Linked DNA regions of Homo sapiens: all the other regions are linked to region 1. The links are contacts of gene promoters, found by promoter capture Hi-C in blood cells and fetal thymus (Javierre and others, 2016). All regions are on one chromosome and are shown on one strand. The core of a region is centred on a gene start or on the middle of the fragment in contact, and the rest is flanking DNA. Distances in the headings are between cores, read along the strand shown.

The links. Contacts are between HindIII fragments. The CHiCAGO score rates a contact against its expected background, and 5 or more counts as called.
Region 2: a contact is called between a fragment that was not itself captured here and the fragment with the promoter of HIPK2 in region 1, in 1 of 17 cell types (total B cells). The highest score is 5.0, in total B cells.
Region 3: a contact is called between a fragment that was not itself captured here and the fragment with the promoter of HIPK2 in region 1, in 1 of 17 cell types (monocytes). The highest score is 6.7, in monocytes.
Region 4: a fragment that was not itself captured here is called in contact with the fragment with the promoter of HIPK2 in region 1 in 2 of 17 cell types (M0 macrophages and M1 macrophages); the score reaches 9.2 in M0 macrophages.
Region 5: a fragment that was not itself captured here is called in contact with the fragment with the promoter of HIPK2 in region 1 in 2 of 17 cell types (naive B cells and total B cells); the score reaches 7.4 in naive B cells.

The regions. Positions count from the first base shown.
Region 1 is chr7:139,776,748-139,782,849 of GRCh38, reverse strand. It overlaps HIPK2 (homeodomain interacting protein kinase 2), which reads left to right and starts at 4,852. Exons shown (of 15, transcript NM_022740.5): 1 at 4,852-5,245. The coding sequence starts at 5,227. It also overlaps a transcript of TBXAS1 not described here. RefSeq lists silencers at 4,507-4,736, 5,167-5,256. The HindIII fragment of the contact is 7,054 bases long and covers 3,302-6,102 here.
Region 2 is chr7:140,474,559-140,480,660 of GRCh38, reverse strand. MKRN1 (makorin ring finger protein 1) reads left to right here and starts at 1,156. Exons shown (of 8, transcript NM_013446.4): 1 at 1,156-1,501. The coding sequence starts at 1,317. RefSeq lists enhancers at 1-719, 1,050-1,890 and silencers at 1,026-1,135, 1,426-1,565, 1,846-1,925. The HindIII fragment of the contact is 221 bases long and covers 2,455-2,675 here.
Region 3 is chr7:140,364,047-140,370,148 of GRCh38, reverse strand. It overlaps SLC37A3 (solute carrier family 37 member 3), which reads left to right. Exons shown (of 15, transcript NM_207113.3): 4 at 467-559; 5 at 5,658-5,741. Among named protein-coding and RNA genes, the nearest start is that of SLC37A3, 31 kb to the left of the region's middle. RefSeq lists enhancers at 1,399-1,898, 1,899-2,400, 6,073-6,102. The HindIII fragment of the contact is 2,962 bases long and covers 1,411-4,372 here.
Region 4 is chr7:140,346,147-140,352,248 of GRCh38, reverse strand. It overlaps SLC37A3 (solute carrier family 37 member 3), which reads left to right. Exons shown (of 15, transcript NM_207113.3): 8 at 103-187; 9 at 798-976; 10 at 3,482-3,623. Among named protein-coding and RNA genes, the nearest start is that of SLC37A3, 49 kb to the left of the region's middle. The HindIII fragment of the contact is 5,560 bases long and covers 1,053-6,102 here.
Region 5 is chr7:140,297,808-140,303,909 of GRCh38, reverse strand. LOC124901758 (a long non-coding RNA gene) reads left to right here. Exons shown (of 2, transcript XR_007060560.1): 2 at 1,353-2,627. Among named protein-coding and RNA genes, the nearest start is that of SLC37A3, 98 kb to the left of the region's middle. The HindIII fragment of the contact is 6,750 bases long and covers 1-6,102 here.

The DNA.
Region 1 (6,102 bases), core at 3,603-6,102:
GAAAGATACAGAGAAAAAGAAAATTAGACACACAGTCAGAAAGAGAGGAAAATAGAGATACAGCAAGAGACCAAAAGAGAGGTGTGATATCAAAAGACAGAACTTGAGATAGTGACCTACCTCCCTCAGGCACATCCTCCAGAGATAAACCACAGGCACAGGCTCACACATGGAAAATAAAGAGCTGTCAGGAAAATAAGAGCAACACACACCAAGTGAGAATAAGATACAAGCCACACAGACATCATGCTAAGAATACCCTGAGAGTAAGAGAGACATACACACCTAAATGCATACACCAAAAAGAGGGTTATCTCTATCCTGTGGCCTTGAAGATATTGTGATGTTGTGCAGTTTCACAACTATAGGCATACATGAAAAAAAAAAGACCCTTTGTTCCATGTCCTGTAAGCAAAATGAACTTGAAATGAGGTCAAAGCTCCCCCATGTTCACTCTACCAACTCCTGAGAAAGATATGACTTGCACCATTTTGTAGAAAGGCAAATTAAGGAGAGGTAACTGGTATAAATGGTTACTAAATCCTTTCCAGTTTTCTTGCCTTTATTATTGTTCTTCAATGCACCCTGAAGTTAAATGGTATTTTGGCAACCTAGAGTTCCATGTACTGTTAAAAAAAAAAAAAAGTGATTTTTTTAAATGATTGATTAAACTCCTTAGAACACTGACTGCTAATGTGCTTATTAAATAAATAAAATACAATGCACACTATCTCTAGCCAAATGGGACAGCTCCCAGACCCCTCTCATTGTCTCAGGCCCATGACTGGTAAGGCCCTCTCTGCTTGGAGCAATCTCTGGTGCTCTTTTCTGGTACCTCCTTAGCCCTCCCCATCCTTCTACTATCTCCACCCATAAAACAGGACACATATTCAGGTAGAATTTAAGAAACCTGTATTTCCCTCCAAACTAGTTTCACCAAAGTCACTAATGCAACTCTTGTTGCTAAATCCAATTGATGCCTTTCTGCCTTTTTTTTTTTTTTTTTTTTTTTGAGATGGAATTTAGCTCTTGTTGCCTAGGCTAGAGTGCAATGGCACTAGAACTCGGCTCACTGCAACCTCTGCCTCCTGGGTTCAAGCGATTATCCTATCTCAGCCTCCCAAGTAGCTGGGATTACAGGTGCCCACCGCCACGTCTGGCTAATTTTTTTTGTGTTTTTAGTAGAGATGGAGTTTCATCATGTTGGCCAGGCTGGTCTCAAACTCTTGACCTCAGGTGATCTGCCTGCCTCAGCCTCCCAAAGTGCTGGGATTACAGGCGTGAGCCACAGCACCCAGCTGCTTTTCTGCTTTCATCTGACGTGGGCCTCTCAATAGCATGCAGCACTGTTGACCTTGCTGGGATGTTGAGGAATCCCCCGTCCTGGCTGTCCTCCAACTTCTCTGCCCTCTTGTCCATGGGGAGCTCTTTTTCCTCTTCCCATGTCTCAAATACTGGTACTCCCCAGGTTCTGTCACAGATCCTCTCTCCTCCCAGCTCCCATGCTCTCCTTCAGTGACATTTCACTGTTAGGTTTATACCTTGCTGCCACTTGACTGCAGTCACCGGAAGGAAAGGAGACAATTAGTATACTCAGTCTGCCAATTCATGAAGGAAAATCTAAGCTCATTTCAAGAATATTTTTCCGTTATATCATACGAACTTCGCTAGCTCAATTGAATGCATGTTTTGCATCTCATGGATACAGCTTCAGTCATGGTGGTCTGAAGAGAAGGTGGACCTCTGTCTGTATGGCTCCATCTTGTTCCCCTTCCATGGGACTCTATTTCCTTGCCCAAGATTGTTCCCTTCTTATGGGGAGGAGACTACCTGTAAAATGTTTTCGGTTGACACAAGTGATATTCATTTTAAGACTGCCTAGAATCACTCACTGCTAGACAGCAGCTGGGATGGACTTAGAGGCAGTTACTGAACACTGGTCAGTGCTGAATTCAGGGGCAGTCCTATAAAGCAGGGCCTTGCTCCAAGACGCTGCCAATCCAGTTATGAACACAGGGTACCTACACAGAAGACAAGAGTCAGCCATCTAGGGTGCGGGTATGCTGTGGACAACAGAGTGTGAGCAACAGGCAGGAAATGTTCTGTGAGCCTAAGGAAAGATGAGACAAAAGTCAGTGGGGCTGGTCAGAGGGAGGAGTTAGAATAATAATAACTTTTATTGAACCCCTACTATGTGTCTGCCCTCTATATAAAACTCTCTCTCTAATCTAACCCAGCCTCAGAGGCTGTGATGAGGACTATATGAAATGCCTTTTATCGAGTTTGTAGTGTTGTGCTGGACACAAGGGAGCATGCAACAAATTGCAGCTATCATCCATTCAACAAATATGTGTGCAGTACTCACCATGCGTTAGGCAATGCAGTTATTGGACATACAATCCAAAACAAGAAAAACATGGTTTCTGTCCTTACTGAGCTTACAGTCTAGAGACACCTTGTCCAAAATGGTAGCCACTAACCACCCATGGTTATTAAAATTAAAAATTCAGTTCCTCAGTCATACTAGCCACATTTCATGTGCTCCACAGACATAAGTAGCTACACTGCCATTATGGCAGCAAGTTCTAATGGCCAGCACTAGAAAGGGGCAGAGAGACATGCATGTAGGGTATGTATTAACAGGGAGTTACATACCTGTGTGGTGAAGGCTATGATAGAGATTTACAGATGCAAAAGGAGAACATTACTATTGTTCTCCTTCTCATAATCAAAATACAGACACTGAGGCTCAGAGAGGTTAAGCATTTTGACCAAGATCACATAGTTAAGTGGAAGAGCTAGGATTTGAACCTAGGTCTGACTTACTCCCACGCTATCTCGGGCTGTTTTGTGGAGGAGGTGAGCCAGGCACAGGTAGAATCTGCTTAAAGAGAGAAGATGGAGAAGGTACCCCTCTGGGAAAGTGGGTGGGAAAGTGACCGCTTGGGCAAAGGCACAGTGACAGAGATGGGTGAAGCTGGCACTGGGCTACAAGTAAACCAGTTTGGCTAGAGAAGCAGTGACTTGCTGAACTCATGTCCTTAGAAAGCTAAGTCAGGACTCGCCTGCCTTGATGAAAAGCCAAGGCACTCAGCCCCACCTGCAGAGGTTGAGTCCTTAGAGGATGTTAGCCAGGAGCGTGGCATGGCCAGAACCACGTATTATGAAGATGGCAATATTTAGGATGACCTGGGCCAAGACTAAAGTTAAAGATTGCAGGGAGGATAGAAGGGAAGGAGATAAATGACCGGTGTGGAGCAAAAAACACTAGAGTGGGAGCCACGAGACCTATTCCTAAGCTTCAATACTGTGTGACATTGGGCAACAGATTTTACTTCTCTGGACTCCATTTCTTCAACTCTAAAAGGGCAGGGCTGGCCCAGATGACCTCTGAGGTCCTTTTAGCAACAGTAGTCTAGGATTCTGCAAACGTGAATGGCATTAGGTTAAGAGAAGGGATAGGAAGTGTAGCATTGATTATGGGGGCAAGGAAGACCGCAGAGTACAAGATCACACAGAGGAAGGTGTCGTGATGTACCACTAAAAAAGTGTGAAAGAGCTTGCCTTTTTTGGGAAGGACTGAAGGATGGGAACGGAGGATGGAGACCGGAAAGGATAAGAAGTAGTGAGAAAATCACGAGGTTGTTTTTAAGAAAGTTATACAGTGTTAGAGATCATTATTTTACACAGATAGCTTTTCAACTTTTTTAAACCCACGATTCACAGACGGAAATAAAATTGACATCATGGTCCAGTACACTTGTCCAGTACCTATAATCGAAACAAAAGGTTTATGAAACAATAGTTGCCCTTACTAAGGGCAATGGACTCTAATATTTTCTATTGGATTCCATTTCGTTCTTTTTGAAAGCTGGTTGCCTTCCGCTGCATTTATTTTATGATCTATTACTGTGTCACGACCCACAGTTTTAAAAACAGTGCCTAAGAGGAGACTCAACAAGTCTTCCTAAGTTGGAGGGGATGGCAGGGCATCCTATCCAAGCATCCGGGAGGCAGCTGGAGAAGCAAACCTGGAGAGGCTCCCGGCTGGGGAGAGTCTGGAGAGTGTTTAGCGGAAGCCCTGATAGGAGAGAGCGCTGAGAAAAGCGAGGACCCAGAGAGTTGTGAGCTCCCATTCAAGTGATGGAGTGGCGGCCCTCGGGACAGTGTAGACGCGAGGAGGAGAAGATCAGGGTGGCGTGGAAGCCAGACTCCGGCAGGAACCCAGCGACCACCCCGGGGGCTGCATTTCCGCGGCGTGCACGGCAGGGCTTCGGTGCCTCTGACCTCGTGTGGCTTTCCGAAGCTCCTCCACTCACCCGCCCTCCTCCGGAGCACGGCGCGCGCCCACTCCTTCATTCATTCATTCCACTCCTACCTCCGCGAGCGCCAACCGGCTGTGAGATGGGCGAGCCACTTTGCCAGCGTGGGGCTCTCTTTCGGGTCGGTTCCCTCCCCGCCAGCACACGCGCGAACCCTCGCACCTGGGCACACACGCGCGCGCGTGCACACACACACACAAAGTTCTGGGGGCCCCTCTGCAGACCGGCTCGGCTGCGCTGGGCTCGGAGCCGTGCGCCCGCCGGGTCCAGGCCGGCCCTCTCACCCACTACCCGGGGCCCGCCCTGCGCCCAGTCCCCCCGCGCTGCGCGGCAGCCCCTCCCAGCGCGGTCCCCTCGGGCCGCCGGCGCGGCTCTGCCCTTCGGTTCGGCCTTCCCCGCCTCGCATCCGTGCCATCGGCGCTCGATTGCGCGCGGACTCCCTGTGGCTCTCCCGGCCCCGCGCCCCGCCCCCGCCCCCGCCCGCCGCCCCCCTCCGCCAGCAACTTTTGCGGAGCCCCCGCGCCCAGCCATGCTGAGCTGAGCCCCGCCGGCCCTGGCCGCGCGCTGCCCCCGGCTCCCGCCCCTCCGCGGATCCGCTCGGGGGCCGCGGCCGCTCGGCGCCTCGGCCTCGGCCGCTCCGCCCGCCCGGCCGCCCCGAGCCCCGAGCCCCGAGCCCCCCGCGCCGGGCCCGGGCGGCAGCGGCGGCGGCGGCGGCGGCGGCGCGCCCGGCCCCCTCCCCCGGCGCCGGCCACGGGAGGCGGTGATGCGGGCGCGGGCGGCCTCGGCTGCGCCGAGAGCGGAGACACAGGCTCAAGATGGCAGATTCCGACTGAGGCTGGGGGGGCCGAGCTCGCGCGCCGCTTTCCCGTCCCCGTTGCCATGAACCGCGGACACCCCGGCCCCGATGGCCCCCGTGTACGAAGGTAAGGGGCGCCCGGCCCCGCCGACCCCGCGCCCGCCGCCCTCCGCGGCCCCCGCAGCTTTGTTCTGCCCGCGGCCCCGCGCCCGCAGCCCCCGGCGCCTGCCCCAGCCCCCACCCGGGGCCCGAGGGGGCCGCGACCCCCTCCCTCGCCCGGAAGATGACCGGGACCCGGCGCCGGCAGGGTCTTGCTTCCAGGGCGGGGAGAGGGGCCGGGGGCGCAGGAGGGGAGGGGGCGTGTGCGAGGGTGGGCGGCTGCCCGGGGAGGGCAGGGACGCCGGGGAAGGCGGACCGGTGACTGTGCTTTTTATTTATTTGCGATAAATGAAGGTGATGCGGCTTAGCTTCCACCGCCCCCCCACATTACCTTTCGGAGCACCTCCTTTCCACTTCGCTCTCCGCCCCGCGCCCCTTCCCATTTCTTTCCGCGCCCACCCCACGCTCCTTTATTCTCCGCGAGCCTCCGATTTTGGGGGGGCTGTGGAATCGGAATGCACGGGGCTAGGTGGGGAGAGAGGAGAGAGATGAAAAGTCCATGTCAGAGCCAGGCAGAACAATGAAATAGGCGAAAATCTCCCCTCATTAGCGTGTGGAAGGGGACGTGGACTTTGGGTTTTCCAGCCGGGGGAGCGGCGGAGACGTTTTTCTGGCTCGGTCTGGGTCGATCTGTGTTGTGCACCTTCACCTGGCATCGGGGTATTTTTCCCCATTTGACTGCCTTTAGCAAGAAAGAAAAGAACGCAAGGCAGAAAAGCAGTAGGTCTGCCTCGCACACTGTCTTTCGTTTCTCTTCAGTCCGTTCTGTCAGCTTCCAGCCAGAAAGCAACCCAGAATCAACTAAGTTTTTACACTTCGATGTGT
Region 2 (6,102 bases), core at 1,316-3,815, 700 kb before region 1:
CTCAGCCTCGGAGTAGCTGGGACTACAGGCGCCCGCCATCATGACCGGCTAATTTTTTTGTATTTTTTAGTAGAGACGGGGTTTCACCGTGTTAGCCAGGATGGTCTCAATCTCCTGACCTGGTGATCCGCCCCCCTCGGCCTCCCAAAGTGCTGGGATTACAGGCGTGAGCCACCGCGCCCGGCCAGTACAAAGGTTTTTAAACAGATTCTCATTTAACTTTCACAGCCATCTCTGAAGTAGGTACTATTATCTATTACTATTATTATTATTTTGAGACGGAATTTCATTCTGTCGCCCAAGCTGGAGTGCAGTGGCGCGATCTCGGCTCACTGCAACCTCCGCCTCCCGGGTTCAAGGAATTCTCCTGCCTCAGCCTCCTGAGTAACTGGGACTAGCCACTACACCCGGCTAATTTTTGTATTTTTAGTAAAGACGGGGTTTCACCACGTTGGCCAGGCTGATCTCGAACTCATGACCTCAGGTGATTCGCCTACCTCAGCCTCCCAAAGTGCTGGGATTACAGGCGTGAGCCACCGCGCCTGGCCTATTATTATTATTATTGTCGTTTTTACAGAGGAGAAAGCAGGAGCACCAAGAGGTAGGATAATTTGCTAGAAGACCCATGGCTTAGAAAGGGAAGCCTGGAGATAAGGGGACCAGCCCTCTAGAGCATTGCTCAGCCAAAATACTTGGCCAAGATCACATCTCTGATACCAGGAATGAGATAACCTTTATTAAGTGTTTACCATGTACCAGGCACTAAGCTCAGTGATTTCTAAGGACATCATATAATCCTCACAGCAACCATATGTGGGTCTGCTGTCATCCTTATTCGAGAGAGGCTGAAACGGAGGCTCAGATAGAACAAGTACCTAGCTCAAATATTACTAGAGAAATGGGAAAGTGCAGATTCAAACCCAGGTCTTCCGACTGCAAGTCCCTAGTCCCCAGCCCCAGCTCCACTATATCAGCCTCTGCTAGGAAGAAAGCCGCTAACTATGGACTTTCGTCGCCGGGGTTTCGAGCCTAGGACACACCTGTACAGACCCCCGTTTGCCCCGCCCCTTTCCGGAGGAGACGTCCCCTCCACCAATGAGCGGCGCCGTGGGCGGGCCGCGGGCGCGCATGCTCTGGGCCCGCAGTTGAAGTGGCGAGAGCGCTCAGATACGCGACGCGTAGCAGGCGGGGACCGAACGGGTGCCTCAGTGTCCTTCCCCTCCCCTCGCCTGGCCTCGCCGTCCTCTCCCCGCAGCCGGACCGGAACTATGTGATCCCGGAAGTTCCGGGGCCTTTGCTGTGTGGGATAAACAGTAATGGCGGAGGCTGCAACTCCCGGAACAACAGCCACAACATCAGGAGCAGGAGCGGCAGCGGCGACGGCGGCAGCAGCCTCCCCCACCCCGATCCCCACAGTCACCGCCCCGTCCCTGGGGGCGGGCGGAGGGGGCGGCGGCAGCGACGGCAGCGGCGGCGGCTGGACTAAACAGGTCACCTGCAGGTAGGACGTTGCGCGGCGGAGCGCCGGGCGCGGGGAGGGGGCCGCGGGCCAAGCCTGCGGCGCGGGAGGGAGGAGGGCGGCCGGCCTGCGGCTAGAGGCGCGGGAGGGCGGGGACCGGCGTTGTCTCGATCTCTGCAGCCCTCGCGGCCCCCGCTGCCGCCGCGTTCCCCCAGTCACTGCGTCAACCCCCGCTGGGCCGCGGAGCCCTCAGCGCTGTCCGCGGAGGCCTGGCGGTGCGCGATTACTGCGGAGCCGCGGGGCTGCACCGCCGCTTACACTTCCCTGAGCGCTGCCTGAGCTGGCTGCGAGCGCATCGGGGAGAGGTGGGCTGGCTCCTCCCCTGCCGCTGGAAGGATGCCCCCGCCGCTGCCTCCGGCTCCCGGGGCTCGGGAGGTGGTCACTTGAGGCCGGTCTCCCAGCGATCCTCTCCGGGCCTAGACACCCCGCCGAGGGCCCCAGCGAGCTTGCCTGGCTCCCGGCCCTCTCCTCTCTCCGTGCCATCCGTTTGTAACGTCTTTTCACGTCCCTCCGTCCCTCCGCCCCCCATCCTCCGCCCAACTGTGAGAAGAAGCTTTTGTATTTCTTCTTTGTATGTTTGTCGAGGTTGGCGGTGCTGAGCTTTGTCTTAGAAGCAGGCGTTCGGGGGCCGGGGTCGTCTTCTCCACCCGCGGTTTTTTTGAGCTGCAGATTATTACCCTCCCCCAGCGCTATGTTCCTCTTTTGAAATTTACGCATCTTCCGAAGGGAGTGAAAGGGCTCTTCGCTCCCGGAAGAGAGAGAGGTTTGGTTTTGGTTTGATATGCGAGACGAAAATATTAGAAAAATTAAGGGATGGCGGTTGTATGGATGTGTATGGTTGTAAAAAACTACCTAGCTCTACGCAGAAGAGGGCATTTAATTGTACGTTTTTTATTTTCCGGTTTTTAAATAGTGATCAGTAGCGACTGTAAGCTTTTCTTTTTCTATCAGTTGAATAAATCAACTGAAATGCCGGTTTTCACCTGGGTGGTATAATTTATATGCAAGTATGTAAAAATGATTCCTAATTAGAACTTGTAGTATTAAGGGTGAAATTTGAAACCTTCCCAGTCTTTGATGTGATACATTTATCCTGGCGACCTTCGAAGGTCTCTCAGCCTTTGATATGATACATTTAAGGTGTGAAGGATAAGCTTAATTATTTTACATAATGGGATGTAGAAAGCATAAACGCAATTTCAGGTCACTTGTCTTATTCATCGGTGGATTGTAAAAGTGGAATATTGCCAGGAATGATGATTTTAAAGTTTCTACTCATGGAGCAAATTATTTGAATATCTGTTTCCCTTTTACAATGCTACAGTTGATCTATATGTGCTAGTTACATCTTTTAAAAGATTGAAACCGGCCTGTCGGGGTGGCTAGGTCGGCGTGGTGGCTCACGCCTGTAATCCCAGCATTTTGGGAGGCTGAGGCGGGCGGATCGCCTGAGGTAAGGAGTTCGAGACCAGCCTGGCCAACATGGTGAAACCCTGTCTCTACTAAGAATACAAAAATTAGGCCGGGCACAGTGGCTCACACCTGTAATCCCAGCACTTTGGGAGGCCAAGGCAGGTGGATCACGAGGTCAGGAGCTCAAGACCAGCCTGGCCAAGATGGTGAAACCCCGTCTCTACTGAAAATACAAAAAACATTAGCCGGGCGTGGTGACAGGCGCTTGTAATCTCAGCTACTCCGGAGGCTGAGGCAGGGAGTTGCTTGAACCCAGGAGGCAGAGGTTGCGGTGAGCCAATATCACACCACTTCACTCCAGCCTGGGCGAAAGTGAAACTCTGTCAGAAGAAAAACAAAAAAGAAAAAGAAAGAAAAGAAAGAGCTTAGATTTACTAGTTTTTGGGGGTTTTTTGTATAGCTTTTGCTTGAGACAGTTTTTTATTGTTGTGCAGATTCCTTGATAGGTCTGGGGTTTTAGTGTTTGACATTGTTTTCGGTTGTTCTAGGTACCAACATGATCTCTTACTTAAAACTATTTTCTCCTTTAGATAGAGGAATGTCAACTATCATTTTTTTTTTTTTTTTTTTGAGACAGAGTTTCCCTCTTGTTTCCCAGGTTGGAGTGCAATGGTGTGATCTCTACTTACCACAACCCCCGCCTCCCAGGTTTAATTGATTCTCCTGCCTCAGTCTCTGGCATTACAGATGCCTTAGTAGCTGGGATTACAGGCGTGCACCACCATGCCCACCTGACTAATTTTGTATTTTTAGTAGAGACGGGCTTTCTCCGTGTTGGTCAGGCTGGTCTTGAACTCCCGACCTCAGGTGATCTGCCGGCCTCAGCCTCCCAAAGTGCTGGGATTAGAGGCGTGAGCCACCGCACCCGGTCTATGATCCTTATCGTTCACTTTGAGCTCTCTGAGAAGAGTAGGGCCCTATTTTATCTGCAGGGCTTTCTTTCCTCAGTTCCTCAGTTTCTTTCCTCAGTTCCAGTATCATGAACAGGATACTCAGTTACTGAGTATCCTGAGCAGATACTGAGTAAATGCTTGAGTGATGTTGATAAAGTCATATACCTAGAATTACCCACTTTAACAGGAACTTTGTAAGATTCCTCTGCTTTCATTAAAAAAAAAAAAAACAAAACTTGTAAATTACCAAAGACAAAGTACTTAACAGAACACATGTGTATCTTCCTTTTTTTTTTTTTTTTTTGAGATGGAGTGTCGCTCTGTCGCCCAGGCTGGAGTGCAGTGGCGAGATCTCAGCTCACTGCAACCTCTGCCTCCTGGGTTCAAGCGATTCTCCTGCCTCAGCCTCCTGAGTAGGTGGGATTACGCCCGGCCACATGTATATTTTTTCTGGAACTACCTTATTCAATCATTCAGTAAGTAAACATTGCACGCCAGCAATGGGAGACACAATATTAGGTGTTCAAGAGAGTGCAGATGTATGTACTGTATTATAAATAAACATTTTCAATATGTTTGCTAGGTAAACATCACCTAAAGAATCAGGTAGAGGTGTGTTTTAGTGTTTGTGCTCATTTCTCCCTATAGCACATCACTCCTGTATCTAGGAATTTGACTAAAGCTATTTTCTTCACTTAGAAGTTTTGATTAGAATGTTTTTAATTGCTCGGAATCACCTGTATTTTCCTACTGGTTACATTTTTTCTAATGTTTCTCCTGGGGTTTTCATTGTGTTTTATACCTTTCCTCAGAAACTGTGTTATGCTGCCACCACCAGGCTGTTTTTCATATCTTTTATTAGAGCAATACTAAGAAACAGAAATGCTCATTGCATCTGCTACCTTGAGTTACCTTGAGTGTGTGAGGTTAGAACAGTTAATACTTAAAGAGAAGTTGTAATTTGAATTTAGACCCCTCTTTATTAGAGTGCTTCTATAATGGCAGATAAGTGTTCTGGTAGTTGAAATAATACACAAAAAAACAAGTGTTTAATTTTTAATTTTTCAAAAAACTCTTTTCTTGATTTTTATTTGTATTTATTTGTATTTTTTGAGATAGGGTCTCGCTCTGTCCCCTAGGCTGGAATGCAGTGGCAGTGTCTTGGCTCATTGCAGCCTCCACCTCCCAGGCTCAAGCAATCCTCCTGCTTGAACCTCCCCAGTAGCTGGAATTACAGGCACGTGCCACCACCCCAGGCTAATTTTTTTTTGCATTTTTGATAGAGACAGGGTTTCACCCTGTTGCCTAGGCTGGTCTTGAACTCCTAAGCTCAAGTGTTTCACCCGCCTCGGCCTCCTAAAGTGCTGGGATTACAGGTGTGAGCCACCATGCTTGGCCTTGAAAGTTGTGTTTTGTTTGTTTGTTTGTTTGTTTTCTGAGATGGAGTCTGTGTCGCCCAAGCTGGAGTGCAGTGGCACGATCTCGGCTCACTACAACCTCTGCCTCCTGGGTTCAAGGAATTCTGGTGCCTCAGCCTTCCGAGAAGCTGGGATTACAGGCACGTGCCATCACACTCGGCTAATTATTTGTACGTTTAGTAGAGATGGGGTTTCACCATGTTGCCCAGGCTGGTCTTGAACTCCTGACCTCAGGTGATCCACCCACCTTGGCCTCCCGAAGTCCTGGGATTACAGGCATGAGCCCCCGTACCTGGCCTCAAAAGTTTTTAAAAATGTGGTTAACGTAACTTAAAGATCAGCTGGGCGTGGTGTCTCACCCCTGTAATTCTAGTACTTTGGGAGGCCAAGGCAGGTGGATCACTTGAGGTCAGGAGTTCGAGACCAGCCTGGCCAACATGACGAAACCCGTTCTCTACTAAAAATACAAAAATTAGCTGGGCGTGGTGGCGGGCACCTGTAATCCCAGCCACTCTGGAGGCTGAGGTGGGAGAATCACTTGATCCCAAGAGGCAGAGGCTGCAGTGAGCCAAGATTGCACCACTGCACTCCAGCCTGGGTGACAGAGTGAGATTTCGTCTCAAAAAAAAAAAAAAAGAAAGAAGGAAATCCTTCAGAAATTCTTTATCTGAGTGCTGTGACGTCCATAGTGAAATTTATTACTTGGAAACTACATAGTGGTTGTGAGAGGAAATAAGTAATAAATATTAAATGGTATTAAAAAGATTATGCAACTGGGAAAGAAAAATTAATTTGCTAT
Region 3 (6,102 bases), core at 1,642-4,141, 590 kb before region 1:
TAGTTATTTCTTTCTTTTCTTTTCTTTTTTGTTTTTTTGAGACGGAGTTTCGCTCTTGTTGCCCAGGCTGGAGTGCAATGGTGCAATCTCTGCTCACCACAACCTCCGCCTCCTGGGTTCAAGCAATTCTTGTGCCTCAGCCTCTTGAGTAGCTGGGATTACAGGCATGTGCCACCATGCCTGGCTAATTTTGTATTTTTAGTAGAGACAGGGTTTCTCCATGTTGGTCAGGCTGGTCTCGAACTCCCGATATCAGGTGATCTGCCCTCCTTGCCCTCCCAAAGTGTTGGGATTACAGGCGTGAGCCACTGTGCCCGGCTATACTAGTTATTTCTAAATACATTTGAAGTAAAAGTTGTTCTTGAGCATTACTGGTGCTTTGGAAGTGTTTGTGAAGGGGCTTTGGGAAACAGAAAGCCCTGGCAGATTCTACAGGGACTGACCTGTTCCTGCTGTCTTACTGTAGATCTGGAGCAGCAACCATTTGTTCCCCAGTGCAGAGAAAGCGACTCTTTTCCTCGGCACACTGGATACCATTTTCCTCTTCTCCTATGCTGTGGTAAGTTTTGGAACTCTAGGGCTTAAAGCTAAAGAAAAATGTAAATATAAATGACCCTGAGCCTTACAAAATTTGTAAGGGATTTTGAATTTGCTGACTGAGGCAGAGTTCAGTATTTCTGAAGTTTATATTGTTTGTTCTTCCCATTCATTTATTCATTCATTCGACAGATATTTATTGCTCATCTAGCATATGTCAATGGGAATTTATCCCGAACAACACAAAATGCCCTGCCTTTATGGACCTGTATTCTTGGAGTTAGGGGAGACAGACAGTAACCAAATGCTACAAATAAATTATAGAGTATATTTGAAGGTGGTAAGTACAACGGAGGAAAATAAAGCAGAGAAGGGGGACTAAAGGGGCCTGGGTGAGGTTGTAATTTTAAGTAGCACAGCCGGGAGACCTCAGGAGGCAGCGGGCATTTGAGTGAAGACCTGAGCAGGTGAGCGAGTCGGTGTGCTTGGATCAGAGCTGCAAGAAGAGAGGCCAGAGATGCGGTGGGGCTCAGATCTGTAGGGTTTTGGTACCTTTGGGGCGGCTTTGGCTTTAACCTTGAGTGAGATGGGAGCTGCTGGAAGGTTTTGTGCAGAGCAGCGGCAGGACCTGACTTAGGTTTGGATAGGTGCACTTGCTCTGGGAGCCGAGTTCTTTTGAGGTGAAGGATGATGGTGACTTGGGTCCAGCGCAACAGTAATAGAGGTTGGGGGGAAGTAGATTTTAGCGGTGTTTTGGAGGTAAAGCCAATAATATTTTTTCCCTCTTGAATGTGGAATGTAAGAGAAATGTGTCAAGAACACCTCCAGGGTGGAAGTGTCATGGCAGAGGGGAGACTGGGGAGATAGAAAGCTTTGATGACTCGCTTTTGGATGCATTACATTTGACCTCTGCTGCCCAGATGATGAAGAGCAGACACTTGGTCATTGAGTGTGGAGTTCAAGGTGTAGGTTCAGTCTGAAGATACATGTTTTTGGAGTCCTTGGCCTTTATTATTATTATTATGTTTTTAATTTTTTATTTTTGAGACAGAGTTTTGCACTTGTCGCCCAGGCTGGAGTGCAATGGCACAATCTTGGCTCACCACAACCTCCACCTCTCGGGTTCAAGCAATTCTCCTGCCTCAGCCTCCTGAGTAGCTGGGATTGCAGGCATGCGCCACCACGCCCGGCTAATTTTGTGTTTTTTTAGTAGAGACCGAGTTTCTCCATGTTGGTCAGGCTGATCTGGAACACCCAACCTCAGACGATCCGCTTGCCTCGGCCTCCCAAAGTGCTGGGATTACAGGCGTGAGCCACTGCGCTCGGAGTCCTTGGCCTTTAGATGATTTATAGATCAAAACTGTGAGGCTGCGTGAATTGATCAAGAGAACAGGCGAGGGCGGGGAAGAGGTGTGAAACCTGAGCCCTAGGGCTTCCAGTCCTCAGAGGTGGGTGAGGAATGGGCCAGGTAGCGGGGGTGGAGTGGTAAGAAAGGTGGGGCTGGGCGCGGTGGCCCACGCCTGTAATCCTAGCACTTTGGGAGACCGAGGCAGGTGGATAACTTGGGGTCAGGAGTTTGAGACCATCCTGGCCAGCATGAAGAAACCCCATTTCCAATAAAAATACAAAAATTAGCCAGATGTGGGTGCCTGTAGTCCCAGCTACTTGGGAGGCTGAGGCAGAAGAATTGCTTGAACCCGGGAGGAGGAGGTTGCAGTGAGCCGAGATTGCGTCACTGCACTCCAGCCTGGATGACAAAATGAGACTCCATCTCAAAAAAAAAAAAAAAAAGGAAGGTGGGATCCTGGAGAGGTAGCACCCTGGGAGACATTCCACGGTGGCGAGGAGTAATTCAGCGTCAGGATAGGCAGCTGGCGTCTCTGTCTGGCTGTAGGAACAGCTGTGGTGGATGCCACATTAGAGTTCTGGAGCTGATGGTGGCAGCAGCTGGAACGTGGACTGTGAGAGGAGCCTTCCTTTTCTCCCCAGCATATAAGATGCTGTCTTTAAGTATGCCTTATTTCTGTCTTTAAGTGTGCCTTATTAAAAACGCCTTTTAATTCTCAATGTCCAGGCAATGTGAAATACTGGGTAAAAGTTCTGAAGTAGTTTCTAAATGTTTATTTGGTTAGTTATTTTTATTTATTTATTTAATTTTATTGTATTATTATTTTTTGAGACGGAGTCTTGCTCTCTTGCCCAGGCTGGAGTGCAATGGTGCTATCTCAGCTCACTGCAACCTCCGCCTCCTAGTTCCAGTGATTCTCCTGCCTCAGCTTCCTGGGTAGCTGGGATTACAGGTGCACACCATCATGCCCAGCTAATGTTTGTATTTTTAGTAGAGATGGGGTTTCATCGTGTTGGCCAGGCTGGTCTCAAACTCCTGTCCTCAGTTGATCCACTTACCGCTGCCTTCCAAAGTGCTGGGATTACAGGCGTTAGCTACCATGCCTGGCCTATTTTTTTTTTTATTTGAGATGGAGTCTTGCTGTGTTGCCCAGGCTGGAGTGCAGTGGCACAATCTTGGCTCACTGCAACCTCTGCCCCCTGGGTTCAAGCAATTCTGCTGCTTCAGCCTCCTGAGTAGCTGGGACTGCAGACATGTGCCACCATGCCCTGCTAATTTTTTTTGTATTTTTAGTAGAGATGGGGTTTCACCGTGTTGGTCAGACTGGTCTCAAACTCCTGACCTCAAATGATCCGCCCACCTCGGCCTTCCAAAGTGCTGGGATTACAGGTGTGAGCCACTGCGCCCAGCCTATTTGGTTAATTATTAAGAGTATCTTTTCTTCAAAGAGGAAACAGAGAAACAGTTGGAACAGTTCTTTGGTCATTCATTTAGTCTACCTCCTCACCTTGGGTATTTTCTGTATAAAATCCCCATGTAGAGGCACGGGGCTTTGGCTGGAGCTGGTGACAGGGTGCTCGCTTCTCTTCGAGCCACTCATTTCTTTCAGGGACCAGTTTAAGAGGCAGTGTAGTCTAACTAGCTGTGTTAAACTTGGTTGCGAAGTAGAATTTAACCTTTTTTTGGTGTTTAGTTTCCTCATCTATGGAGTCATCTATAGGACTAGATTTAGGACATAAAGGATCAATGCCATGAAAAATCAATGGTCATGGTTTTTTTTTTATCTTGAGCTGCACTTCCTTCTGTAACTTATGGGCATTTTGCTTTCTGCAGCAAAACAGAATGTATTGATTCTGGTGGGGCACGGTGGCTCACGCCTGTAATCCCAGTACTTTGGGAGGCCAAGGAGGGCAGATCACCTGAGGTCAGGAGTTTGAGACCAGCCTGGCCAACATGGCAGAACCCCATCTCTACTGAAAATACAAAAATTAGCCAGGCAAATTCAGTTAGGACCAGGTGTTTCTAATAAATTGACTTATCTCTAAAACTTGGCTGGGCGTGGTGTCTGACGCCTATAATCCTAGCACTTTGGGAGTGGGGAGAATTGCTTGAGGCCAATACTTCAAGACCAAACTGGCCAACATAGCAAGAACCCATCTCTAAAAAAACAAAAATTGGCAGGCCTGTAGTCCCAGCTACTCGGGAGGCTACGGCAGGAGAATTGCTCGAACCTAGGAGACAGAGGCTGCAGTGAGCCAAGATCACATCATTGCATTCCAGCCTGGATGACAGAGTGAGACTCTGTCTCAAAAAAAAAAAAAAAAAAAAAAAAAAAAAAAAAAAAGCATGTATTGTTCTGTCATCTGAAGCAGAATTGAGATTTTCTTCATCCCTTTTGTTCTGTGTAGCATAAGTCCATATGAGGGGCAGCTAGACAACATAGAATCTACTTTAAGGCTGACATGCTTCTCTTAAGATGAGGAAGCTTGATGATAATGAGGGAGAAACGTTCATATTTAAATTTATCTTCTCATTTTTTTTTTGAGATGGAGTCCCACTCTATCGCCCAGGCTGGAGTGCAGTGGTGCCATCTCGGCTGACTGCAAGCCCCGCTTCCTGGGTTCAAGTGATTCTCCTGCCTCAGCCTCCCAAGTTTCTGGGATTACAGGCGCAAGCCACCATGCCTGGCTAATTTTTCTGTTTTTAGTAGAGACAGGGTTTCACCATGTTGGTCAGGCTGGTCTTGAACTCTTCACCTCAGGTGATCCACCTGCCTTGGCCTCCCAAAGTGCTGGGATTACAGGTGTGAGCTACTGCACTCGGCCAATTTTTTTTTTTTTAGAGATGGGTTCTTGCTATGTTGGCCAGTTTGGTCTTGAACTATTGGCCTCAAGCAATTCTCCCCGCTCCCAAAGTGCTAGGATTACAGGCGTGAGACACCACGCCCAGCCAAGTTTTAGAGATAGTCAATTTATTAGAAACACCTGGTCCTAACTGAATTTAGGTTTTCAGTCAAGATATTTTATATATTTATGGAAGAAACCTAAAGTGTGCTGCGCTTAAGGTCTTCAGTCTCACTTCCTGCCATGATCTCAGCATTTTAATTCCTGCCACTCAGTGGGAGGAGAGCAGAAGGCAGAACCTGTCTCCAGCTAATTATTGTCTCTGCCTTCCTACTCTCCCTGCCTTGGGATGTCATGAAACCCAAGGGTCAGATTCAACAGGCAGCTAGTGTGCCCTGGAACCTTCTATTCCACTTTTTACAAGGTTGGAACTGAAACTGCAGGGCGTGTGGTAACACGTTAACCCAGAGTGCAGATGGCTAAGAGGAATCCCTTTGGGATAGCTTATCACTGATGGGTAGGAATTAATCTAGTCTAGAAAATGAAGTATATTTGTGTGCTTGTTTTATTAGAGTCATTCTTATTTATTTATTTTTTTCCAGTTAGGGAATCAAGTAAAACCAAAGTTTGCCCTGAACTTTGGTGTGTTTGTGGTAGAGTGTGCCCGCTGCCATTTCTTTTTTTTTTTAATATTTTTTTCCTTCTATTTTCATAACTTTTTTGTTTTCACTGTATTACTGACCATGTTATCCAGCCCACTGCCATTTCATGAAACATTTGTGAAACTCCTGTAGACAGGTAGCCTCGGCATGTGTATAAGAGTTAATTTTAAATAATATCTGTGTTTGTCTCATTTGCTTTGCAGTGCATGTTACTTTTTCATACTGTGTTATTATTTAGAGCTGTAAAAGAAAATGCTTTATTTTTAGGGCCTATTCATCAGTGGCATCGTTGGGGATCGGTTGAATTTGCGATGGGTTCTGTCTTTTGGCATGTGCTCTTCTGCATTAGTGGTAAGTTGAAAGGTCTTATTATTATTATTTTGGTCAGGTATTTTAGAATCTAAGTAATCTCCCTACTTCTCTGTAGAATAGAATAGTAAGATTAATCCTCATTGTTCGAATCCCTCATTTGCCTTTTCACTTAGATGAGTCTTTTTTTTCCCCCCCGAGACAGAATCTTGCTCTATTACCCCAGGCTGGAGTGCAGTGGTGCGATCTCAGCTCACTGCAACCTCTGCCTCCCATGTTCAAGCGATTCTGCTGCCTCAGCCTCCTGAGCAGCTGGGACTATAGGTACAGCTCACCACGCCTGGGTGATTTTTGTATTTTTGGTAGAGACGGGGTTTCACCATGTTGGCCAGTCTTATCTCCT
Region 4 (6,102 bases), core at 2,583-5,082, 570 kb before region 1:
ACCTCTCCCCCACCCCCACCTTCCCCCACACACCTTTAATGAATGTGCTTGTGATGACTGTCCCCAGATATGTAAGGACCACCTTTCACCCCTCTCCTCCAGTATGCCTTTCTGGTGACGGCGTCTGTGCAGTTTGCTGGTGGGATCGTTATCTTCTTTGGACTCCTGGTGTCACCAGAAGAAATTGGTGAGGAGAAGCCGCCCCTTCTATTCCGAATGTCTTACTATTATGGCCGAAAGGAAATCTGAGGCCAAGAAATCGAATCTCTTTTTTCCTAGGAAAACTCTGAGCTCCTTTTAGTGAGTGAAAGGAGAACAGTACTGCCGTTTGAGTCCTGTCGACATTGTAGCCAGCCCCTGGCACAGCTGGACGTGTTTGAGGGGAGTGATGCACGTCTTTTATAGATACAGGAAAATCTTCGCATTTGCAAATTATTTTTATAATTGAGACACTGGCAAGGAATGAACATAGATGTATTTCTGATTTCACTTCTTGAAACATTTCTTTTCATCCATAAAAATGATGCACAAAAAAGATACTTAACCTGTAGTTAAATACAGATTACATACAAATGAAACCACAGAAGCAAACAGATGTACAATTCTTCTATCTTTTGAGTATTTTTAGATAGACTGTGTGACTTTAATTGACCTTAGTTGACCTCGGTCTCTGGACCTTCGTTGCTGCTTCTGTAAAATGGAAATAAAAATAACATCACCTCATAAGTAGGGATGTATGCAGAGCCCTTCACACGTGGTAGGCACTCCATAAACAGTGGCTGTCGCTGTTATTTTAGGTCTCTCGGGTATTGAGGCAGAAGAAAACTTTGAAGAAGACTCACACAGGCCATTAATTAATGGTGGTGAAAATGAAGACGAATATGAGCCGAATTATTCAATCCAAGATGATAGTTCTGTTGCCCAAGTCAAGGCGATAAGCTTCTACCAGGCATGTTGCCTTCCTGGAGTCATACCGGTAAGGACCGCTTACATCTTACCACAGCCAGGGAGGTATGAGAGCCCGTGACATCTCCTCTGCCTGAGATAAAGCTTCCTTAAGTATTGAGCCTCTGTTGGATACTTTATTTTAGGAATATACGTGCTGAGGAATGTTGTCTAGTGCCCCTCAGCTTATCTGATCTCTAATGCAGGGGTTGACAAACCTTTTCCATGAAGAGGCAGAGAATAAATATTTTTGACTTCGGGGAACCATCCAGTCTCTCCCCCAACTACTCAGCTTTGTAGAACAAAATAAGCCACAGAAAACATGGGACAGTTAGACGTGGCCAGACTTGGCCAAAGAGCTCTGCTTTCCTGACCCTGATCTGGTATGTGATTAAAAAGGCAAAATTGATAATTTTTAATGTGTGCTTTTGGGCCTTTCGAAGTATTATAGAATTATATGTGGACCAAGAAGAAGGGTTGTGAATGGTTCCTAAGTCTGCCTTGCCCCCTTTTATTTTTTATTTATTTATTTATGATTTTGGGACGGAGTGTCGCTCTGTCACCCAGGCTGGAGTGCAGTGGCGCAGTCTCGGCTCACTGCAACCTCTGCCTCCCGGGTTCAAGCGATTCTCCTGCCTCAGCCTCCCGAGTAGCTGGGATTACAGGTGCATGCCACCATGCTTGGCTAATTTTTTGTATTTTTAGTAGAGACAGGGTTTCACTGTGTTAGCCGGGATGGTCTCCATCTCTTGATCTCATGGTCTGCCCACTTTGGCCTCCCAGAATGCTGGGATTACAGGCGTGAGCCACCGCGCCTGGCTTGCCCCCTTTTAAAGGGTCCAGAAGAGAGCACTCCACAGTCTTTCTTGGTAATGCATTCCAGTGTTTTCCACAGCCTGTGCAGTCAGGAAAGCCTTCTAACGTCTACACTAAATCCCTTCTGCTGCAGTTTTTCTGTCTTGATGTTTCGGGCACTCTAGCACTGGAGTGGAAGTTAAGAGGCCTAGGTTATGTTTCCAGCTTACCCACTAACTTTCTGTGACACCTGGGGTGAGTCACGCAACCCGTCCGTGTGTCTCAGTTCCCCTTCCCATGGAATAGAAATTATTCCACTCTTCCCTGGGGCCTGTAACATTGGGCTGTTGTGTTTTGAACAAGCACCTGTTGTTATTTCATTTGTCAATGGTGCTTTATGAATGTGATCCCTCAGGTAGAGTGATCTGTAGGCCATCTTAATACATGCCTGTCAATCCCCTTCTGTCAGTGCCTCCAAGCTGAGAGAACTAACATTTCCAACAAAGTTAAGTATGAATTAAAATGTAATTTTCCACAATTCTTTAACCCAGTGATGATATATGATATAAGAGAAATGCAGGTTGCTTTAGACCTGTTCTTATGCTATTGATTATTATCTTTTAACTGGTTTTTAAAGTACTCTGCTGGTAATAGTTTAATTTTTGAGAAAGAACTTTGTCGTGACTAAATATGGACCTCTTTTGCTGTTCCTTTGTTCTTCACAAGCTATTGTTCTCTGACATGGGCAGGGATGTAAAGGAAATCTAGTTAACTTAATTCCTTTGTCTTTGTAGCAGGCTGTCTGGTCAGAATGCACTCGTGATTGGGATTTGGCTCTCTAGGGGGTGGCTGTTGCCTGCCAGGGAAGCTGTTTTAAAACAAGTGATACCTAGGGAATAACTGGCAGCTCCAGGGAAAAGAATATACTAGCCAGACACCCTTTGAAGTCAGCCCCTCTGTCCCCCCCCCCTTTTTCCTTTGATGCTGAATGTCAGGATTTCCTGGTAGTAATGTGTTGAATATAGGAGTCTCAGCCCCACCACCATCTTCATGCAGCTGCAGCATTTTTTTCCCCTCAAGGGAGAGCCACGAGGCCGATGATGACATGTTCTTTCATTTTTGACTCGCCAGAGAGACTCTCTTCTTTGCCACCAGACCAGGGAATGTGGAGCTTTTGAAAACTAGTGTGAAAGGAATTATCATGCTGCTGCTTTTCTTAGACCGTGGAACTGTAGTGTAGTCCCTTTGCTGTCCATTGTTCACAGTGTTGCCTTGGCAAGGAGTAGAATAACCAACCCCGTTTGGCTGCTCCCAGTAAAGGCCGTGATGCTTCCTGGACTTCTTTGCCTATGGTTAACGCTGGTTAGTGGCATGAATACCATTCCTCTTTGTGTGAATAAAGAAATATGGGTATGTGCTCTGCCTTATAGGTTCAAAACACTGGCTTGCTTCTACCAGAGAACTGATAGGAGGAGAAACTGGACACAGCTAAGAAGTAGCCATAGGTGTTTTTTATTCCAAAGGCCTGCTGTACATGCCTGTCTAGAAGTTAACAGGGATGAAGAGCAGAGGGAGACTAGCTGAAGTCAGGCATGTGGGAGTTTGTAGAGATGTTTAACTGTAAAATCAGGTTCTGTTCATCCTAACTTCCTTTATTTTGTTTTGCTTTTAAATGACATTAAAAATGGTAGTCGTGCTGTGCTATTTGTCCCTCGCTGATAGTTGAATGCTTTTCTTGTAGTACTCACTGGCCTACGCCTGCTTGAAGTTAGTGAATTACTCCTTCTTCTTCTGGCTCCCCTTTTATCTGAGTAACAACTTCGGCTGGAAGGAGGCGGAAGCCGACAAGCTGTCCATTTGGTACGACGTTGGAGGGATCATAGGTATGCCGGTGATACATCTTTTCCATAATAAAGAGTTAGTCACTAGTGATCTTTTACTGGGTTGTGAAATCTGGCCTCATTTAAAGTTTTATTACTTATTCTACAGCCATTTTCCCTAAACTGTCCTACTAGTAAACAGCCAAACTCAAAAAAAAAAAAAAAAGAAAAGAAAAGAAAAGAAAAAACAAGAGGTCCATAGAAAGGAAGACCTAGCCTAAGGCAGCGCTGTGATTTATTGGACTCTTTTTTCTTAGTCCTTTGTTGATGGATCAGTTCTTTTGTCTCGGGAAGCACATGGGAATCTCTTTAAATGCAATCCTTTCATACGGCTTTCTCAGTGATATCTTAGCTCTAAAGCTAATTGTATGTCAGAGATCCAAGTTAGAATATGAACGTGTTCATTGTATCTACCTCCCACCTTCCCCACCTTCCCCAGCCTAATAAGGAAGAATACACCAGTCCCCCACTTATCTGTGGTTTCACTTTTCGAAGTTTCAGTTACTCTTAATACCGTACAATAAGATATTTTCAGAGAGACCATTCATATAACTTATGTTACAGTATATTGTTATTATTTTCTATTTTGTCGTTATTGTTAATTTCTGTGCCCAACTTATAAATTAAACTTGATCGTGGGTATGTATGTATAGAAAAAAACATAGTATGTATAGAGTTTGGTACTGTCTGTGGTTTCAGGTATCCACGGGGGTCATGGAACATATCTGCTGAGGATAAAGGGGAAATACACCTTAGTGTGTAGGTCGTCAGATCATAGAGGTAGACGTAACAGCAGGGATTAATTTTTGTGAATGTTTTACAGTTGTTTCATTATAAACAAAGATTTTAATAGTGGTTTTTTTTTTTTTTGCTGTAGCTAGAAGTATCAACAAGGAGGTAATAAGTATGAACAAGGAAGTAAGGCAGAGGAGCAGAATGTATTTTAGTGGGTATTACTTACATGGCTGTGCCAGATCTTAATAACCTTCAATAATGTTAACATTTAGAATTGTGGTGAGACTCAACTGCCGTGAGCTTGTGAAAGCACACAGTCTGTGCTAGGCAATCTGCTATTACTGTATTTGAACTTGGCTGCCCGTATTCTTAAATCCAGAGCCAAAGGTGAGGTTGCCACCGTTAGACCTCACCATATTCTGTATCCTCTGAAGTTGAAATTGTCCAGCTGCCTGCTATCTGATAAGGACACACCAGATGTCCAATAGCCCCTACAACTCAGAATGGTGCTGTATGTGACATTGTTGCTTGAAAGATTCATATCCCTGCTTTTTAAAGATTGTGTCCTATTAGCAAACCATAACTGCTAAATTTTATTTTAGTGAATATTTACTAGCCACTTTTTTTTTTCTTTTTTTTTTTTTTTGGAGATGGGGGTACTGCTCTGTCGCCCACGCTGGAGTGGCACGATCTTGGCTCACTGGAGCCACAACCTCCTGGGCTCAAGCGATCCTCCCTAAGTACCTGGGGCTACAGTCATGCACCACCACACCCAGCTAATTTTTTTGTATTTTTTGTAGAGATGGCATTTCACTGTATTGCCCAGGCTGGTCTCAAACTCCTGAGCTCAGGCAATTTGCCCACCTCGGCCTCCCAGAGTGCTGGGATTACAGGCGTGAGCCACTGTGCCCACCTACTGGCCTCAATATACTGTAAGGCACAGTTTTTTTGGTTTTTGAGACACGGTCTTGCTCTGTTGCCCAGGCTAGAGTGCAGTGGCACAATACAGCTCACTGTAGCCTCAGCCTCCTGGGTTCAAGCAGCACGATACGGTTCACCACAGCCTCAACCTCCTGGGCTCAAGCCATCCTCCTACCTCAGCCTCCCAAGTAGCTGGGAATATAGGCACGTGCTACCATGCCCGGCTAATTTATCTTTTATAGAGATAAGGGCACTGTGTTGCCCAGGCTGGTTTTGAACCCCTGGCCTCAAGCAGTCCCCCAGCCTTGGTCTCCCAAAGTGCTGGGATTATAGGCATGAGCCACCATGCCCAGCAAGGCATAGTTCTTAATTCATTATCTTTCAAATTAAAAAGAAAAATCAAAAATAGCATTCACAACTTGTTTTTGTAAGGGATAGCCGATGGCTTTGACAGTTTTTCCTTTTTTCATGTTTTGCTGTCTGATTTGTGGTCTCCTGTCCCCACTGGTCATCATGGTGATTTAACAGACAGTTTATTCCTAAAAGGAAGTTATGGAGGACCCCTTTTCAGGGAGTCAGACCTATTTTTTTTTGAGACAGAGTCTCGCTCTGTCACCCAGGCTGGAGTGCAGTGGCGCAATCTCGGCTCACTGCAAGCTCCGCCTCCCAGGTTCACACCATTCTCCTGCCTCAGCCTCCTGAGTAGCTGGGACTACAGGTGCCCGCCACCACGCCCGGCTAATTTTTTTGTATTTTTAGTAGAGACAGGGTTTCACTGTGTTAGCCAGGATGGTCTCCATCTCCTGACCTTGTGATCCACCTGCCT
Region 5 (6,102 bases), core at 1,495-3,994, 520 kb before region 1:
CTAGGCCATGGAGCTCTATTTCTTTAGAGAACTAAGAACAGAGAAATACATATTTTAGGAAGAGGATGAGTTCTGAAACCACCTCTATCATCTGCAGTGAAGCCAATTATTAAGAACACTTAAGAGTCTAGCATGTTTTGCTCTCTGGAAGAAATATAAGATGGTTCCTTTATACTGACCAAGGCAGTTTGTAATGAAAACTGTTGGCTCAACTTGTTGCTAGGGTACCGCTGGGGAACTGGCACACAGAAAATCTGTAACCTAATGTGATTGTGTGGGAACTAATGAGCTCTGAACATGACAGGCAGGGAGGGTTCTGCTTCCCTCCTTTGCTCAGGTGATGGGCTAACACCCATGTCCAATTAGGCAAACCTGGCATGTGTAGCCATTCGGGGCTGCTGCAGAGCTGTTTCTCTGGGTAGAGAAAATTGGATTGTTGAATTGTTCCAAATATATTGGTATGCTCCCGTCTCCCATCCATTTGGTTATGATAACCAGACCTGCAGACACGTTCTGAGGGTTAGAATAGCTCCAGCATTTAGAAAACAAGCCAGCCAAATACAAAAGGACCCAGATTGAGGTTATATGAAAATTGATGGACGTGATTCAGGACCTTGCTATTTTAAATGAAATGACCTTCACCTGAAGAGATCAGAGGGCGACGCTATTAAGAGGTGTTGCACTTTTACAGTATTCTTTCTGTTAGGGCAGAAAAACTTATGGAAGGAAAAAGGCAAAGTGAATCACCTTTTCTTAAGATTCAGCTGGAACCAGACACTTAGCAAAAGTGATGCTCTGCAGCTGACACAAGTAGCCACATGATTGTGGAATGATAGTGCTCCAAAATGTTCTTGGGGGCTGGATGTGGGGGCTCACACCTGTAATCCCAGCACTTTGGGAGGCCAAGGCAGGCACATCACTCGAGGTCAGGAGTTCGAGACCAGCCTGGCCAACATGGGGAAACTCCGTCTCTACTAAAAATACAAAAATTAGTCAGGTGTGGTGGCAGGTGCCTGTAATGCCAACTACTCGGGAGGCTGAGGCAGGAGGATTGCTTGAACCTGGGAGGCGGAGGTTGCAGTGAGCCGAGATTGCACCACTGCACTCCAGCCTGGGTGACAGAGGGAGGCTCTGTCTCAAAAAAACAAACAAACAAAAAAATTATTGGGTATTACTGAGCATGATGGTGTTTAATTTTGGGAGGGGATGGGGGTAGTTATTCCGGACTCCCTTCCCCTCGAATACACACATGCATAATCTTCCATATAATTTCCAGGGATTAATGGATTCCCTGGGAGATCCAGGGATTTCAGGTTAGAAACCTCTGATGTAATACATTTCCTCCTTTTCAGAGATGAGAAAATCAAGGCCCAGAAAGAAGGTGACTGACTATTGGTCTCAGCAACACTGACAGTGAACAAATCAAACAAGAAGGCAGGCACGGTGGCTGATGCCTGTAATCCTGTCATTTTGGGAGATGGAGGCGGGTGGATCACTTAAGCCCAGGAGTTCAAGACAAGCCTGGGGAACATGGCAAAGCCCTGTCTCTACAAAAAATACAAAAACTAGCCAGGTGTGGTGGCACGCATCTGTAGTCCCAGCTACTGGGAAGGCTGAGAGGTGGGAGGATCACTTGAGCCCTGGAGGTTGAGGCTGCAGTGAGCCATGATTGCACCACTGCCCTCCAGCCTGGGCGACAGAGTGAGACCTTGTCTCAAAAATATTTTAAAAATTAAACAAACAAGAGGGCTTAAGTGTCACAACCATCAATGGGGAAAGTGTCCGTGCATAATTTATTTCTGGAAGCCCTGAGAAGAACAAGCATCAACAGCTTTCTGAGAGACTTATAACTTTTAGCTGAGGGAATCTCAATATTTAACCAAATAACACTTGAAGAAAAGCAGAAATCATCGAGACAGCAGCTCCTGGGAACTAGGTTTTATGATGTGTTCTAAAGACATAAGCGAGAAGCCTGCTGTCACTTGTTAGCTGTGTGCTGAAGTGCAGTTTGGGGTGTCTTTAGGGCAGGTAATAAATTCCTTTCAGAGATTGAAATCACATACCAACGTGAATCTTCCACATCCCTGAAAACTACTTAGGCAAGATGCCTCACATGACACGGAACTCTCGATTTGGCAACACATGTTGGGGTTCAGCCCCCCACAATCCTGGCACAGTGTGGGTGCTCGCTAAATATTTATTTGGATAAAATGGGCTTTCCTTAACTTTACAGTTTTCTGGGGATAGAAGACTCAGGAAACATGAGAGAGCAGTATAAAATGTGTAAGTACACAGTGGAAGGCTGGGGTTCCTAGTGAGGATTTTAGAATCTCACAAACGAAAGCAGCCAGACACAAAAAAATACGTGCAATATGATTCCATGTACATGAAGAACAAATGTGGATCAAATTAACTTATGCCATTAGAAGCGAGAATATTGGTTACCTTTGGGGACCAGGGTTGGGGGTGAGTGTCTGGGAAAGAGAACTTCTAGGGTGCTATTAACCCTAGCCCTATTCTATTTCTTAATCGGGGGGCTGGGTGCCTCTATGGATTCACTTTGTGATAATTTATCAAATGGTTCTGTATGTGTGCTCTATTTTAATAAAAACATTTATTTAAAAATACACACACAATGAAAGATGTAGGCCAGTCCTTCCCAACCTTGAACGTGGGTACAGGTCACTTGGGATCTTACTAAAATGCAAAATTCAGGCCAGGTGCAATGGCTCATGCCTGTAAATCCAGCACTTTGGGGGGCTGAGGCAGGAGGGTCACTTGAGCCCAGGAGTTTGAGACCAGCCTGGGCAAGACAGGGGGATCCTGTCTCCTCTACAAAAAAATAAAAAATTAACTGGGCGTGGTGACACATGCCTGTAGTCCCAGCTACTCAGGAGGCTGAGGTGGGAGGATCGCTTGAGCTCCGTGGTTGGCGGGGTAGGTGTCAGAGCTACAGTGACCTATTACATAATATAATTGCGCCACTGCACTCCAGCCTGGGCAAGAGTGAGACCCTATCTCAAAAAAGAAAAAAAGAAAAAAAAAAGCAAGATTCAGATTCATTTGTCCTCTGGTATGGCATTTGATTCTGCATTTCTAGAAAGGATCTAGAGACCGGTATTGTCAGGATCCTTTTTTTAGGGAGATCCAGGGATCTGGTAAAAGTAGCCTAGGCCTATCCTGTTAACCTATTGGGCTGTTAACCGACAGGACAGCAGTTCCCAAGCCAGCCCGTGCTCTCGTGTGGGTCTGTGACGTTCACCTGCTCACAGCACCTTTGAAGGTGATTTTCCAACCGCTGGGTGGTGACCAGAGCCTGAAGTTGGGCTACCCCAGTGGGTAATCGACTGGTGACCAGCCCTTGAAGCCCACATTAGGGCCCTGGACTGCCTGCCCCATAGAAACCACTGGAGACCTGGAGGCTGTTACCCACAAATTGCATAATGAGGGCATGAGGAGCCTTGCTTCCCTCTCCATCCACAAGTGTGGGTGAAACTGGGTTTTCATCAATGACTGCTGCATAAATAAAGTGGCCATTCCAACTCCTCCTCACAGGGCTCTGGTGAGCCCTCGTAGGCTGAGGTGAATGGATCACAAGGTCAGGAGTTCAAGACCAGCCTGGCCAACATAGTGAAACCCTGTCTGTACTAAAAATACAAAAATTAGCCAGGTGAGGTGGCCTGCACCTGCAGTCCCAGTCCTGGAATGGTCTGAATATTTGTGTGCCCCACGAAATTCATATGTAAAAATCCTAACCCCCAGTGAGCTCCCTCACCAGTTCGGCCATGTGAGGACTCAGGGAGAAGATGGCAATCAGTGAGCCAGGAATCAATCAAGAAAACCATTATTTTGAGTGGGGGCTGGGTGTGGCGGCTCATGCCTGTAATTCCAGCACTTTGGGAGGCAGAGGCAGGTGGATCACTTGAGGTCAGGAGTTCGAGACCAGCCTGGCCAACATGGTGAAACCCCATCTCTACTAACAATACAAAATCAGCTGGGGTGAGCATCTGTAATCACAGCTACTCTGGAGGCTGAAGCAGGAGAATCGCTTGAACCTGGTTGGCGGAGGTTGTAGTGAGCTGAGATCATGCTACTGCACTCCAGTCTGGGCAACAGAACGAGACTTCATCAAAATAAAAAGAACAACAACAACAAAAAAGAAAACCATTATTTTGAGGAGGGGGAAAAGAAGCAAGTCATATACAACATGATTCCTTTCACAGAAACAGTAAAAGCAAGCTGGGTGTGGTAGTGCATGCCTGTAGTCCTAGCTGCTCAGGAGGCTGAGTGGGAGAACTGCTTGAGCCCAGGAGTTCAAGGCTACAGTGAGCTATGATTATGCTGATGGGCAGCCACTGGGAAACATAGCAAGACCCCATCTCTAAAAAAAACAACATGGCCGGGTGCGGTGGCTCACACCTGTAATCCCAGCCCTTTAGGAGGCCGAGGTGGGTGGATCGCCTGAGGTCAGAAGTTCAAGACCAGCCTGGCCAACTTGGCGAAACCCCGTCTCTAGTAAAAATACAAAATTAGGTGTGCATAGTGGTGCATGCCTGTAATCCCAGCTACTCAGGAGGCTGAGGCAGGAGAATCACTTGAACCAGGAAGGCAGAGGTTACAGTGAGCTGAGGTCACACCACTGCACTCCAGCCTGGGCAATAAGAGCGAAACTCCACCTCAAAAAAACAAACAATAGCCGGGCGTGGTGGCGGGCGCCTGTAATCCCAGCTACTCGGGAGGCTGAGGCAGGAGAATTGCTTGAACCCAGGAGGCGTGGAGGTTGCAGTGAGCTGAGATCTCGCCACTACACTCTAGCTGGGGCGGCAGATTGAGACTCCATCTCAAAACAAACAAACAAAGAGAAAACAACCGTAAAAAGAGGCCAAACTAATTAATGCCTTGTTCCTGGGTTGAGACATAGGTAGTAAAATATAAAGAGAGGCCAGGTGTGATGGCTCACGCCTGTAATCCCAGCACTTTGGGAGGCCAAGGCGGGTGGATCACCGGGTCAGGAGCTAGAGACCAGACTGGCCAACATAGTGCAACCCTGTCTCTACTAAAAACACAAAAATTAGCTGGGTGAGGTGACACGCACCTGTAGTCCTAGCTGCTTGGGAGGCTGAGGCAGGAGAATCACTTGAACCTGGGAGGTGGAGGTTGCAGTGAGCCGAGACGGTGCCATTGCACTCCAGCCTGGGTGACAGAGCAAGACTCTGTCTCAAAAACAAACAAAACAACAGCAACAACAACAAAACATATATATATATATGTGTGTGTATATATATATACACACATATATATATACATATATATATATACACACACATATATATATACATATATATATATATATATATATGTTGAGAGAGAGAGAGAGAAAGAATACAGGAAGTGATTAATAAATACACAGGATGGCAGTGTCCTCCAGGAGCTAGAGAGGAAGGTGGGGAGGAACACCAGGGGAGGAGTACCAGGGGAGGAGCACCAGGGGAGGAGCACCAGGAGAGTTCTGTATTATGTGTTGTGCGTTTTATTATCATTCTTTAAAACCGTAGATATCCACATCATATGCACTCTTTCATTTGTATGCAGTGTTCACAATTTAAAAATGAAAATGCAATGCCACATCTTAGGATAATATTTTATGCTGCAATTTCTTTTGCTTGATTTTTTTTTTTTTAGAACATTCTGTGTTTTAAAATTTTTTGACCTGTCAGAGTCAGTTGCCAATTATGGTATTTATTTGCAAGGACACTTTATTCTGAGATTCTGCTCCTCTTATCTTTTTTCTTTTTTTTTTTTTTGGTGGTAAGATGCCCTTTCTTTTGATGGCATTTTAATAAAATGTTGGTGATAATAACAGTATATTTGGGATTTAAAAACAAAACCTCCCTTGTGTATTAAATAACAAATTGGCAACTAGAAGTGACTCCCAGCCCCCTTCCTTTTTTAAAGGTGACATTTAAAAGACTGGAAACCACAGGTGTAGACAACTTTTCTTTTGGGAAAGGAAGATATCCAGCTCTAAGGGGTTTTCAATAAATAAATAAATAAATAAAGAGAGTTGGAGGAGTACTGCCTAGAGAAGATGAAAGGGACGTG